Regions from separate parts of the Homo sapiens genome. Here all the other regions are linked to region 1. Evidence: promoter capture Hi-C in 16 types of primary human blood cells and fetal thymus (Javierre and others, 2016). All regions are on one chromosome and are shown on one strand. Each heading gives the region's core, a stretch centred on a gene start or on the middle of the fragment in contact. The rest is flanking DNA. Distances are from core to core; before and after follow the strand shown.

Region 1 (3,442 bases), core at 384-2,883:
GGAGTTTGAGACTGCAATAAACTGTCCGCACCACTGCACTGCAGCCTGAACAACAGAACGAGGCCCTGTCTCAAAAAAGAAATGACTGGAGGGATGAGAGTAGAACCTGAACTGGACAAAGCAGACAGATACCAGGGACCCTATGTGGGTTCTTCCAGCATTAAACGGTCAATGCTGAGGGCTAACCATTACCTCTTTTTTATTTGAGACGGAGTCTCACGCTGTCTCCCAGGCTGGAGTGCAGTGGTGCGATCTCGGCTCACTGCAAGCCCCGCCTCCTGGGTTCACACCATTCTTTTGCCTCAGCCTCCCCAGTAGCTGGGACTACAGGCTCCCGCCACCACATCTGGCTAATTTTTTGTATTTTTAGTAGAGACAGGGTTTCACCATGTTAGCCAGGATGGTCTCAATCTCCTGACCTCGTGAGCCACTGCGCCTGGCCTTTTTTTTTCTTTTTTCTTTTCTTTTTTTTTTTTTTTTTTTTTGAGATAGAGTCTTACCCTGTTGCCCAGGCTGGAGTGCAGTGGCGCGATCTCAGCTCACTGCAACCTCCGCCTCCCGTTTAAGCGATTCTCCTGCCTCACCCTCCTGAGTAGCTGGGATTACAGGTGCGTAACTGCCTCAGCCTCCCGAGTAGCTGGGATTACACCACGCCTGACTAATTTTTTTGTGTCTTTAGTAGAGACGGGGTTTCACCATGTTGGCCAGGCTGGTCTCAAACTCCTGACCTCATGATCCACCTGCCTTGGCTTCCCAAAGTGCTGGGATTACAGGCGAGAGCCGCTGTGCCGGCCTACCTCTTGTTTTTCTGGGTTGCCCTAGCTTGCTTGTGATGCCCTCTCTGTAATTGCTGAGGACTGATAAGTTTTTTGTTTGGTTTTTTTTTGAGACGGAGTTTTGCCCTTGTTGTCCAGGCTGGAGTGCAATGGCTTGATCTCGGCTCACTGCAACCTCCATCTTCTGGGTTCAAGTGATTCTCCTGCCTCAGCCTCCCAAGTAGCTGAGATAACAGGTGCCTGCCACCACACCTGGCTAATTTTTGTATTTTTAGTAGAGACAGGGTTTCACCATGTTGGCCAGGTTGGTCTGGAACTCCTGACCTCAGGAGATCTGCCCGCCTCGGCCTACCAAAGTGCTGGGATTACAGGCGTGAGCCACCGCGCCCAGCCTCTTTTCTCATCTCAATGGGCCTTAGGTGCTGTAATCTATAGTTATTGGTAGCTTTACCAGATAGTTCCTATGTATATTTAAGAGAGAAGGCTGAGAGCTGTTATGCCTGAAAGACTCCAGAAATTTGAGAAGCTACTCACCCTTTCCCTTGGAGATTTCCACAAGGATAAGGTTGTGTTCAGAGGCTCATCTTCTTTTCCTCTGTCATGGTATTGGGATTCTATCTTAATCACTCCATCATCCTGCCAGCCATGTCTCATTTCTCATGCTGGAAAGCTCCCTCCTCCTAAGCTCAGTGTGAACCACCAGTCTTGATGCTTTATCTGGTCTAGGCTCTAGCCCTTAAATTGTTTGACTGGCTTTGTGTTTCATTTGACCCTAATACTCCGGGTCACACTGTCTAAAAGAGAATTATGTCCCCTCCGATGTCTGAGTGCATTTCTCATTTCTTACTGCTGCTCCTGAGCAGATCTGTAACTTCAAGGTTAAGATAAGACACATTCCATCAGAACTATGTCGTCATCCTTGCCAGCTTCTGATCTGTGACTGTCTAGGAGATTTACAAGACAATTGCATGCCATCCTTTAAAGAATATTATGGTTGTACTCTGACTCCTGGCATCAGGCCCAATTCGATTTGTCAGTGGTTACAAAACCCATTTCCCAAAAAGAAAAGGACCTCGGCCCATGTGCCCTTTAGGCAGTTCTTAAGGGTGGAAAGGAGGGAATTGAACTCAATCTTTATTTTCTGATGTTTTGTGGGGAGGGGTGGACACCAGAATATTTTTGTCTCTTTCCTCATTAAATTCACTTTTCTTTCTCTGAAAGGTTTCACCAAAATGTTAGTATTGCTGTCATTCTCTCCTGTTCCTTATTCCTTCACAGAGTTACTATTAGTCTTTTCATTCTGCCATCTTTAAAGTTTGTCTGAGTTTTAAGGAATAAGTATTTTGCCCTTGAGAGAGAACGTACCTACCCTGTTCTCTGAAGGTTTATTCGTTTTCCAGTGCCTAGTTAACAAAGACACTGTTCCTCTTTTTCTTGCTATCTACTAATGTGTTGAGCTGCAGGAGTTACTGCATGTGATATGGTTTACTAGCTTAGGAATTTGGAAGGTCACATATTTTCTTCTGCTGTTGTATTCAGCCCTGACATATTTTTACAGAAGGTTCTTTTTGGGGGACTTAATAGATCTTTGGTTTCAACATAAACTCACTTTTTCCCTCGGAGGTACGTAGGGCAGGTAGTACAGATTTATTTAGCCCGTTTAAATGATGCCGGGGTTAGATGGAAAATTTATTTACTCAGGATAACACATGGCAAGTTAATCAGAGTCAGGATCCTATTTAAATGTTTGTTATTGTTTTTATATCCCTTAATTATGAAAAGTTAAAAGGTAAGAGTTGAAAAATGCCGTTTTTAATTGGAGGTTTGCTGATGGTCCATTCAAATCTGAGGAAATCTTTTGTAATTAAAAAATTTCTGGCCGGGTGCAGTGTCTCATGCCTGTAATCCCAGCACTTTGGGAGGCCCAGGTGGGCGGATCACAAGATGAGGAAATCGAGACCATCCTGGCCAACATGATGAAACCCCATCTCTGCTAAAAATACAAAAATTAGCTGGGCGTGGTGGCACATGCCTGTAATCCCAGCTACTTGGGAGGCTGAGGCAGGAGAATCCCTTGAACCAGGGAGTTGGAGGTTGCAGTAAGCCGAGATGGCGCCACAGCACTCTAGCCTGGTGACAGAGCGAGACTCCGTCTCAAAAAAAAAAAAGAAAAAAGAAAAAAATTTCTACTTTGGTCTTACACCCTATGGTTTCTTCTGTTTGACAGTCGTAATAGTCACCATTGTGCTTCTTCTCAACTGAGTTCTTTTTTTTTTTTTTTTGAGACGGTTTCGCTCTTGTTGCTCAGGCTGGAGTGCAGTGGCGCAGTCTCGGCTCACTGCAACCTCTGCCTCCCAGGTTCAAGCGATTCTCCTGCCTTAGCCTCCCAAGTAGCTGGGATTACAGGCAAGTGCTACTATGTCTGGCTAATTTTTGCATTTTTAGTAGAGATGGGGCGTCACCATGTTGGTCAGGCTGGTCTCGAACTCCTGACCTCAGGTAATCCACCTGCCTCGGCTTCCCAAAGTGCTGGGATTACAGGTGTGAGCCACTGTTCCTGGCTCAACTGAGTTCTTTGCTTTTGATTGTCCCTTTTTCTTACTCTCCTATGGCAGCCACTTCTGGCTTTAAAGTTCCCACATCTATAAAGCAGAGTAGAGTTTTGG
Region 2 (3,267 bases), core at 251-2,750, 190 kb before region 1:
CTATAGGCAAGTTACTGTTCTTACTTAGCATTTTATGTATTTTAACCCAGGAGGGAAAAAAAAACAGGCCCTGAAAATTTGATCCTTGCACAGCTTGTTAGTAGTGAGCTATGACCATAACCTGGGACTTCAGATTTCTAATTTACTGCTTTTATACGATTCTTCCCTAAATATTGATTCTACACTCAACTTCTCATTCTCTCAGGCTATGAGTTTCCTCCTGAACTCATTTCCACATCTGCCAGTTTAGACTCCATGATCCAGTACTTCAGTAGCCTAAACCAGCATCCTTAACCCCCGCTATTGTTCTGTCTCTGCTTTACCAATTCCCAAGTTGAGAGAAGCCCACCATCTTTTACTCTATTCCTGCTAGGTTATCAAGCATAGTTACAGAAAATCATATAACTATGCCACCTAACTCCACTGCAGATACAGATTTCTAAACTCGGGCACTCATTCCTGTTTGACTTTCAGATTTACCTGGTGGCCGTTGCAGCCCTTTTACTATTCTCAACTTCGTAGTCCCTACTTTCCATCCTCCACTATCAGGAGATGACATTGACTTTACCTCCAACTTTTTTGAACTCCTGGGCTCAAGCCATCCTCCCAAGTAGCTAGAGCTACAGGTGTGTGCCACCATACTCAGCTACTTTTTAAAAAGAATTTTTAGAGATGTGGTCTTAGTATATTGCCCAGGCTAGTCTCAAACTCCTGACCTCAAATGATCCTCAACCTCAGCCTCCCAAAGTACTGGGATTACAGGCATGAGCCACCACACCTGGTCTTGATTTCCTTGAGAAGGTACTGGTCATTGACCTTAACTTACTCTTTAACTCTTATAGCACCTCTTTTTCCTTTATCTCAGTATACTTCTGGCTGGGCACGGTTGCTCACGACTGTAATCCTAGCACTTTGGGAGGCCAAGGCAGGCGGATCACTTGAGGTCAGGAGTTCGAGACCAGCCTGGCCAACATAGTGAGACCCCCATCTCTACTAAAAATACAAAAAATTAGCTAGGCGTGGTGGTGCATGCCTGTAATCCCAGCTATTTGGGAGGTTGAGGCAGGAGAATCGCTTGAACCTGGAAGGCAGAGGTTGCAGTGAGCCAAGATGGTGCCACTGCACTGCAGCCTGGGCAACAGAGCAAGACTGTCTCAAAAAAAAAAAAAAGTATACTTCCTCTACAAGGCTAACTTTGTCTGTGAACTTTGTACTGCATCACATTGTATTATCTATTGCTACATAACCAATTTCCCCAAAACATAGTGTATTAAAACAATAATAAACATTACTCTCATAATGTCTGTGGATAAGGAATTTGGGAGTTACTTAGCTGAGTAATCCTGGTTTGGGGTCTTTCATGTAGATGCAGTCAAGAGTCAGCCAGGGCTGGGCACAGTGGCTCACACCTGTAATCGCGCATCCCAGCACTTTGGGAGGCCAAAGTGGGCAGATCACTTGAGGTCAGGAGTTTGAGACTAGCCTGGCCAACATGGTGAGACCCTGTCTCTACTAAAAATACAAAAACTGGCCAGGGATAGTGGCATGCACCTGTAATCCCAGCCACTTGGGAGGCTGAGGCAGAAGAATTGCTTGAACCCAGGAGGTGGAGGTTGCAGTGAGCTGAGATCGTACCACTGCACTCCAGCCTGGGCGACAGAGCGAGACTCTGTCTAAAAAAAAACAGAAAGAGTCAGCCAGGGCTGCCATTTCTGAAGACTTGACTGAGGTGGGACGATTTGCTTCTTAAGTGGCTCACTTACATGCCTGGCAATTCAAGGCCTCAGTTGCTCCCCATGCGGGACTCTACAAAGCCTGCGAGTATCCTTACAACATGTCAACTGACTTCCCCCATGGTGGGCAATTTAAGAGCAAGGTGGAAGCTGTAAATTATTTTATGACCTAACTTCAGAAGTCACGCTACATCATTTCACAATATGCTTTTGGTTACACTGGTGAGCCCTTTTCATTGTGGGAGGGGACTTTACAGGAACATGAATGCCAGGAGGCAAGAATCAATGGGGGGCTGTCTTGAAGGCAGTCTACTACACTGAGCTTCTCCTATCCTCCAATATCTTCCATAAGTCAATTCCTCTCTCCTCTTTAGCTTTTTTTTCTTTGAGATAGGGCCACACTCTGTCACCCAGGCTGGAGTGTAGGGGTGCTATCATACTTCATTGCAACCTCAAACTCCTGGGCTCAAGCAATCTTCCCACCTTCCATGACTGGTCTTTCTTTCTTTTTTTTTTTTCTTTTTTTTTTTTGGTAGAGATGGGATCTCACTATGTTGCCCAGGCTGGTCTCAAACTCCTGGCCTCACGTGATCCTCCCATCTCAGCCTCCCAGAGTGTTGGGATTACAGGTGTGAGCCACCATACCCAACCCTCTTCTCTTTAAATTAACTCTACTCTTTCCTTAACTCTTTCAGCTATGAAAATGTTTATGTTTATTTTTTAAAATATATACCCTGTTCTCCATATTAATCAGGGTTTGGTTGCAGAGAACAGAATCGATTCTAGCTAGATTAAGCAGTAAAGGACTTATTACTAGGGCATCAAATGGATGGATCACAGAATTCTGGGGAAGGCTGAAGAAACAAACTCTAGACTGGACTTCCAGAAATGATTCCTAAAGACTGCTAAGGGAGGCCAGTCGTGGTGGCTCACACCTGTAATACCAGCACTTTGGGAGGCCAAGGTGGGCAAATTGCTTGAGCCCAGGAGTTGGAGACCAACCTGGGCAACATAGTGAAACCCTGTCTCCACTAAAAATACAAAAATTAGCTGGGGTATGGTGGCATGCGCCTGCAGTCCCAGCTACTCAAGAGGCTGAAATGGAAGGATTGCCTGAGCTCAGGAAACGGAGGTTTCAGTAAACCGAGATCTTACTACTGCACTCCAGCCTGGGTGAGAGAGTGAGATCCTGCCTCAAAAAAGAAACTGCTAATCAGGCCGGGCACGGTGGCTCACACCTGTAATCCCAGCACTTTGGGAGGCCGAGGCAAGTGGATCACCTGAGGTCAGGAGTTCAAGACCAGCCTGACCAACACGGTGAAGCCCCGTCTCTACGAAAAATACACAAAAATTATCCAGGCGTGGTGGTGGGTGCCTGTAATCCCAGCTACTCAGGAGGCTGAGACATGAGAATTGCTTGAACCCAGGAGGTAGAGGTTGCAGTGAGCTGCACTCCAGCCTGGACAACAGAGTGAAACTCCGTCTCAAAAAAAAAAAAAAGACTGCTAAAGGAGCTGCTACCGCTTCTACTATA
Region 3 (3,677 bases), core at 90-2,589, 200 kb before region 1:
CCAAGATCGTGCAACTGCACTCCAGCCTGGATAACAGTGAGACTCCGTCTCAAAAAAAAAAAACAAAAAACAAAAAAAACACACAGGAAATTCTGTCACATGTTATAACACGGATAAACCTTGAGGACCTTAGGCTAAGTGAAATAGGCTAGTCACAAAAAGCAAAAGACTGTGATTTCACATATATGATGTATCTAGTCAGACTCACCAAAACAAAAAGTAATGGTGGTTGCCAGGAGCTGGGGGCAGTGGGGAATGGAGAGCTGATGGTTAATGGGTATAGAGTTTCAGTTTAGTAAAACAAAAAACTTTTGGAGACTAGTTGCACAACAATAAGGAATATATTAATGCTTAACACTACTGAACTGTATACTTAAAATTCATTAACATGGTAAATTTTATATGTGTTTTTAATCACAGTTAAAGATTTTTGTCCCAGCTACTCCGGGGGCTGAGGCACAAGAATCGCTCGAACTCGGGAGGTGAAGGTTGCAGTGGGCCGAGATCGCGCCACTTCACTCCAGCCTGGGCAACAGAATAAGACTCTGTCAAAAAAAAAAAAAAAAAAAGATTTTTAAATCAAAAAAATTTTTTTAATCTAGAAAGCCAGGTTAAAGTTGACCTAAAGTGCTGGAGACCAGGAAGTAAAGCATTACAATGAGAAGCTCTCATTATCAACTCTGACATATGCTACTATATGGGCAGTATAATATATATGAATCATAAGGTACCATCCAGTCTATCAGCTGCTGACATGGCCTAACATTTGCTAGTGATGGGAATGGATTAAATCAGGGGAAACTAACAAGAATTTCATCTGTAAATTCTCCCTGGTTGTCCTGAAGCTTCGGAAATATGAAACATTGCTGGTCAAGAAGAGCCTGGTTAGCATAATAAGCCTGCCTGTCCTTTAAGACTTTTCCTTCCTATTCATTCTGTCCTTCAAGTCACCTTTCTGGCTCATTTGCATCACGATCATGGTTGGCAATTTATTCCATGTTTACCACTCTTCCAGTGAAACTGTCTGTTTCAATTCCCCACTGGCTTCTGATTTTCCTAGCAGTCTCCTGGTTTATAAGCTTCTTATCAAATGTGAATTGTTTATCTTATTTCACTTTTATCATTGCCTTCAGGGGTGGCAAGAGCAATTTATTAGGTTGCCTCTTGTCTTCATAATATACCAGAATGTGCTTAACCATTTAATTTCCCTTCCTTAACCAGGCTTGTTAAAATTTGGGGCACAGCCTGGTCATCTTGTATAGCCTAAGGGTTGTTTTAAATAGCATTTTATAGGTTAGGGGCTTTCTTTCACACAGCAGTTCCATATGTCTGCAGTTGTCTTAACCTCAGAAGGTTCTGTTTTTGCACATTGTTCCTATTTTTTTAGCTGGCTAATGTAGTAGTCACTAGATTAAAGAATTCTCTGTTTTGTTCTCACATGTGTTCCAAAATATGAAAAGTAAAAACTACCTGTCTGATAACAGTATTGGTTTCATTTGAGAGGTAATTAGAGTAACCAAGATTAGGAACTACTTATAGGAGTAAGTTAAAGTAGACAGATGAAAAAGAAATCTATCCACTAATATTTTTCAAGCTTCCATAAAACATATAACTGATATAGGGCAGTGCTTACCAACTTTTTTCATGTCACAGGATACTAGTAATAGATGAAGATGCTATTACTAGTATCTTCATCTAGATACTAGTAATAGCAAGTATTACTATTACTTGCTATTACTACCCCCAACTTGCCTGTGGAAATGGGGGGTAGGGGATGACTTGAACTAGTTGTGGGCCCCCAAATCAGTGTATTAGCACACTAGAAATCCATTTCAACTGCAGCATACTGGTTGGGAGGCTCTGGATAGACTAGCTAGAGAATAGGAATAACCCTGAATTAGCACTTTTAGAAAAGGAAAAGAGGATGACATTTTATTTAACTTTTTGTTTTATAATAAGAGTAACCAGCAACAAAAACAATATGTTCAGTTCAATATGAAACTGAGACTTCACCCTGAGATTTCTGGTTCTGCTGAACTTACTAAGATTCAGAAATATTTTAAAAGTGTAGTCACCCTTTTTTTTTAATCCAAGTTTTCTTTAGACTATATTGTTCTATTATTACAGAGTCTCTTGAAAAAATCCAGTGTGCCTGGAATGCTGTAGTTTTACAAGGGCCTATTATCGTTTTACCTACTGAAACACTTCTGTCTTTCAGCCGACTCCCTGGACCCTGAGAAGCTATTGCAATGCCCCTATGACAAAAACCATCAAATCAGGGCTTGCAGGTTTCCTTATCATCTTATCAAGTGCAGAAAGGTAGGGTCATAATTTGCCCTCTAACACCCTCCTGAGTTCTTTTAAAAGGCCATATTTTATAAATATCAAATAATTTTATCATGTTTTAATTGATTGCCAGAATTGTTTTGGGAATCTACCTCTCTTAAATACCAACATTTATAGAAAGGCATTTGTTCATTCCTTAGGATAAATTTTTTCTTGTTTTGGTTTTCTTCCCATTAACTAGTGACAAAGAACCCTTTATAAACAGCATCTCTAGAGTCTTCTCACCCTTTGTAAAACAGACTAATTTTGGCTAACAATGAGAAATCCTGCCTATCTTCTAAATTTGATGTATTCATGAGCCTAACAATGATTGAGTGCTATAACTCACTTTTTCTGATTATTTTGTTTAGAAATTTTAGAGCTTGAACAGCTAGAAGTTAGCCCAAGAAAAATTATTCCTAAAAATAACTGTATCTCCAAGTTTCAACAGTAAACATCTTTAAAAAAATAATAAATAACGATTTTTTTTCTGGTCACTCTTGTATAGACTTAGCTGATATAAACTACTTTCATGCTACCTTAAATGAGACATTTTGACAATGTTGTTAGAATTCTGATACAGAAGCCAAAATTCTGCTAGAATTTATGCTTGGGAAACAATTGAGGTATTTAATCCAAACTGCATACAATTCAGCTTTAACATCCTTTAAAAAGTGCTTGTAATCCTGGAAACATCATGTATCTTTGTTATTTCTCCAGCTCCTTTTAATCTCGAGAGCAAGGATCCCTTAACATTAAACCTGGACAGTATGGATCAGCAGATACCACTACAACATTGTCCCCTCTAGGCTCTCAAACATTTCCCAAATGGAGTCAAGTGGTAAAAAAGACACTATCATAATTCCCTTCTTCTAATGTTCTTAATCTTTGGCCACAAAACCTTTGTATTGAATGCCTGATACCACTTATGAAAATGACGGCGATGCCTGCAAGTTTCTCACACCTATATATTTTTCCAGACTTCTCCCTACTTCATATTATTTTTACTTTTCCGAGTTTCATTTATGACATATCTTTTTTTTCCTAATAAATTTCTTAATTGCTGGTATATTTGCCATAGGATATAGGTGATACTAAACCCTTTGTTTTGTTTTAAAATAAGGAACTTGGTCAGCAAAGTAGACTCTATCATTTGGGTTTTTCCTTAGTGAAATAGCTGAAATGAAGGTCAAATTGTTCAGAGATTCATTTCAGGCATCATTACGTTAAGTAAGCATCACTGTGTTAATCTGAAAAATTATTGGTTTGCCTCTTCTGTGGCTCCCTTCCAACAGCTATTTTCCAGCACTATTGTATTGCAATAGCAGGGACACTACTGCAATGCAGACTAA
Region 4 (3,577 bases), core at 120-2,619, 170 kb before region 1:
TTCCAGCTCTTTGGCCCCTCCCCCATCCACACGCTTACTCCTCTGGCAGGCTAGCTGGGCTTTTGGCTGGGAACTGAGCTCAAAGCGGAAACAGGCAGTTGGAAGGTGTGATTTATGTCTCTGACTTCACCCCAGGCTGGAGCCCAAACACTTGGACCCTCTCCGCAAGTACCCGTCTGGCAAATTATCTCCTCCCCCTCAAAATCTCAGGCTCTTCTAGCTGGTCAGAGGTCTTCCAGGCAAGCCCATCCTCACTACCATCCCCCCTCTCCACTAACACTACCACTCACACCTCTAACTCCTGCTGATTACAGTGATAGAAGAATTAACTTCACTATTACCCACAGGAGGCAGGATTCTCCTATCAGCCCCAAACAATAGATAAATCCCTCCATATATCTAATTTCCTTCTCTCCTGCTGCTGACCAGCAGTTGGTAGAAACAAAGGGGAGCTAACTCACTCAGAATTCTGCCTCTGGCCTGTCAAGGTCTCTTTGCAGATTTAAGGTAATCCTCAATCCTGTGATTGTTTCTATCTCTAGAGACTTCTTAGAAACATTCTCAAAGACACCAGAGTGCCATTTTCTTGCTCCTGATCAGTAACTTGATGCATATCTTTATCTGCCATTCATCAAGATCTGGAAAGCACACTCCACCCCCCACAATCTGGAAGCCTAGAGTCAGAAAAGATCTTGCTAGGAAGTGAGAATCCTCTAACTCCTTGCAGGGGCTCCCACCATTACCACTTAGAAAATTCTACTAGAAATCTAGTTTCATCTTTTCCCACTTTCAAAGATTCCTCATCAGTCAAATGCCCTTGTTAACTTTAGAGGGCAGTTGAGGAGGATTAAATGAAGAAATCAATTTGAAAGATATAAAATGCTGCTTCATAGTATTATTTTGAGGTTAAATGAGGTCGCATATGTAAAATGCTTAGATCTATACCTGGTACTTGATAACTATTAGCTGTTTTTTCCTGTAATACCTCAAAAATTGGGGAGGGACCTGGGAGTTTGCCCTTCCTAGACATCCAGAGCCCATGGGCTCATTATAACCTTGTTGAATGGGAAGCTCAGATTCCTAGGTTTTAGTTTCTTTTTTTTTCTTCTTCTTCTTTTTTTTTTTTGAGACGGAGTCTCGCTCTGTCACCCAGGCTGGAATGCAGTGGTGCAATCTCGGCTCACTGCAACCTGTGCCTCCTGGGTTCAAGTGATTCTCTGCCTCAGGCTCCCGAGTAGCTGGGATTACAGGCGCGCGCCACCACACCCAGCTGATTTTTGTATTTTTAGTAGAGACGGGGTTTCACCATGTTGGCCAGGCTGGTCTTGTACTCCTGACCTCGTGATCCACCCGCCTCAGCCTCCCAAAGTGCTGGGATTACAGGTGTGAACCACCGCGCCCGGCCCCTAGGTTTTAGTTTCTGAAGGTACATGGTTGCATGAATGAATGAGTCCATGCTCCATTCAGTTTTCTGGGGTCTGGTCTCTCCTTTCCTGGCTTCCTTCCCATCACCCCCTACAGAGCCTTTCCCCTAGATCACTGAGCTCATCCTGGTTACCAATTATTTGTTTATTCCTGGCCCCCACACAAGGACTCCAGCCGCAACCCTGGTTTTCCCCTGAGTTCCTGTATGAGAATCTGAATGTGTTGGGGTAAGATGGAACCTCAAGGATCACCTAGCCCAATTCCTTTGATTTAGGAAAGACAAAATTGGGAGCCAAAGAAGGGCAGACTTGCTCTAGTTGGAACTTCCAAGTCAAGTACCTGGATCCAGCCCAGGGAGTCCCTGTGTGCTTTCAAGGGTAAAAGAATTCTCATCCCCTTCTTCCTTTCTCTCTCTCAGTGAGTAGAATAAATCACTATTTTTAACTGCCTAAAACATGAGCAAAAGCTGGAGAAACGCTCAAGGAAGTCCTTCTACATACAGGCTTACTGGCTTCTTCCATATTTTCCTGGGTCTTCTCTAATTCTTATTTCTGCCCCTTCTTGCATTCCTCCCTTCCTCCACCTCCAGTCACACTTAGATGGCTTCTATGCTAACCTGTATGTCACTTGCATATCATTCAACAATAGATCAATAGATTTGGGGTTTTTTTGTTTTTTGTTTTGTTTTTTTGAGACAGAGTCTTACTCTTTCGCCCAGGCTAGAGTGCAGTGGCATGATCTTGGCTCACGGCAACCTCTCCCTCCCAGGTTCAAGCAATTCTTGTGCCTCAGCCTCCTTAAGCGGCTGGGATTACAGGCATGTGCCACCATGCCCAGCTAATTTTTTGTATTTTAGTAGAGACGAGGTTTCACCATGTCGCCCAGGCTGGTCTCAAACTCCTGATATCAGGCAATCCGCCCGCCTTGGCCTCCAAAAGTGCTGGGATTACAGGCGTGAGCCACCACGCCCTGCCTAGATTTGTTTTTAAAAAATGAATTTGTTGCTGAGTGCAGTGGCTCATTCCTGTAATCCCAACACTTTAGGAGGCCAAGGCAGGAGGATCACTTGAGCCGAGGAGTTCGAGACCAGCCTGGGCAAACATAGTGAGACCCCGTTCCTACAAACAATTAGTTTAAAAAGAAAAAGAAGAATGGGTCAATGGCTTTCTTTGAAAGTGTTTAGTCTGAATCCAACACCTAGGTCCAAAGTGGGGTACACTTGACCAGCAGCTTCTGTGAGCATGACCACCCCATATAAAGGCATTCCTTTTGCCTTTGCCAGTGAGGCTCAAGCATTCCAAAGATAAACGTAGTGGGCTGGTCTTTCCTAAAGTAAAGCTAGATTGCTTGGGTTTGAATCCCAGCTCTTCTGCTTACCTTGGGCAAGTCTGTGCCTCAGTTTCCTCATCTTATAAAATAGGTCAATAGTACCTCCCTGATAAAGGGGCAGTGCCAATTAAATAAGTTAATTCATATAAAGCTCTTAGAACACATACTATATAGCATAAAGCATAAGCTATTATTATTATAGGAGAGACAATAACTCCAGGAAGCCGTGCCTCCACCTCCACCCCCCATACATACCTGAGTCATGTGGCACGGTTCCTCTCTCTTCCTGGGATCTCATTACCCTTCTCCAAACCAGCCCATCTGGCCCCTGTGCAGTCTTACCCTTATCCAACCCCCAGCTCTACCCCTGGGGCCCAAACCTGGGTGTAGGGGAGGGAAGAAAGGCAAAACGTGGCCATTTTAGGGCAGAAGAACTGTTAGAGGGGAGAAGGGGTGGGGGCAACAGGGAAGTGGACCCAGAGTTGGGAAGCTCCTTATTGGGAAAGGCCCCTGTCTGATTCTGGGAGACAGAGGCCAGGCCTGGGCACTCAGCCAAGTCCAAAGAGCAGGCCCCAGGCCCTAGTCCTGGCCCCCAAAGCCAGCACCAGTGAAGAGACTAAATGTTCAGTTGCTTTGGGCTCTTCTCCAGACAGTCACAGGACACTTCCCCTACCCCAACCTCACCTATTCTGACAAAATACCCATGGTGATTAAAGTAGCTAGAACCAGGAGTACAACGTCTCTGTGTATATATGTGTGTGTTGGGAGGAGGGAGAGACTCATGCTTCCGGGCCATAATAAGGTCAAACCACTGTTCCAAAAG

Evidence for each region. Contacts are between HindIII fragments. The CHiCAGO score rates a contact against its expected background, and 5 or more counts as called.
Region 2: a contact is called between a fragment that was not itself captured here and the fragment with the promoter of SCAT2 in region 1, in 2 of 17 cell types (neutrophils and monocytes). The highest score is 7.4, in neutrophils.
Region 3: a contact is called between a fragment that was not itself captured here and the fragment with the promoter of SCAT2 in region 1, in 1 of 17 cell types (monocytes). The highest score is 6.0, in monocytes.
Region 4: a contact is called between a fragment that was not itself captured here and the fragment with the promoter of SCAT2 in region 1, in 1 of 17 cell types (neutrophils). The highest score is 5.1, in neutrophils.

Annotation. Positions count from the first base shown.
Region 1 is chr12:54,260,806-54,264,247 of GRCh38, reverse strand. SCAT2 (S-phase cancer associated transcript 2) reads right to left here and starts at 1,633. Exons shown (of 2, transcript NR_157844.1): 1 at 1,311-1,633. The region is part of intron 1 of CBX5 (chromobox 5); the gene reads left to right. The HindIII fragment of the contact is 3,994 bases long and covers 1-3,442 here.
Region 2 is chr12:54,447,170-54,450,436 of GRCh38, reverse strand. The region is part of intron 3 of GPR84-AS1 (GPR84, ZNF385A, ITGA5 and GTSF1 antisense RNA 1); the gene reads right to left. Among named protein-coding and RNA genes, the nearest start is that of GTSF1, 25 kb to the left of the region's middle. RefSeq lists a silencer at 1,796-1,996. The HindIII fragment of the contact is 3,557 bases long and covers 1-3,267 here.
Region 3 is chr12:54,463,709-54,467,385 of GRCh38, reverse strand. GTSF1 (gametocyte specific factor 1) reads left to right here. Exons shown (of 9, transcript NM_144594.3): 3 at 2,219-2,319. It overlaps GPR84-AS1 (GPR84, ZNF385A, ITGA5 and GTSF1 antisense RNA 1), which reads right to left. Exons shown (of 4, transcript NR_120487.1): 4 at 356-545. Among named protein-coding and RNA genes, the nearest start is that of GTSF1, 8.1 kb to the left of the region's middle. The HindIII fragment of the contact is 515 bases long and covers 1,082-1,596 here.
Region 4 is chr12:54,428,857-54,432,433 of GRCh38, reverse strand. The region is part of intron 3 of GPR84-AS1 (GPR84, ZNF385A, ITGA5 and GTSF1 antisense RNA 1); the gene reads right to left. Among named protein-coding and RNA genes, the nearest start is that of ITGA5, 11 kb to the right of the region's middle. The HindIII fragment of the contact is 5,263 bases long and covers 1-3,577 here.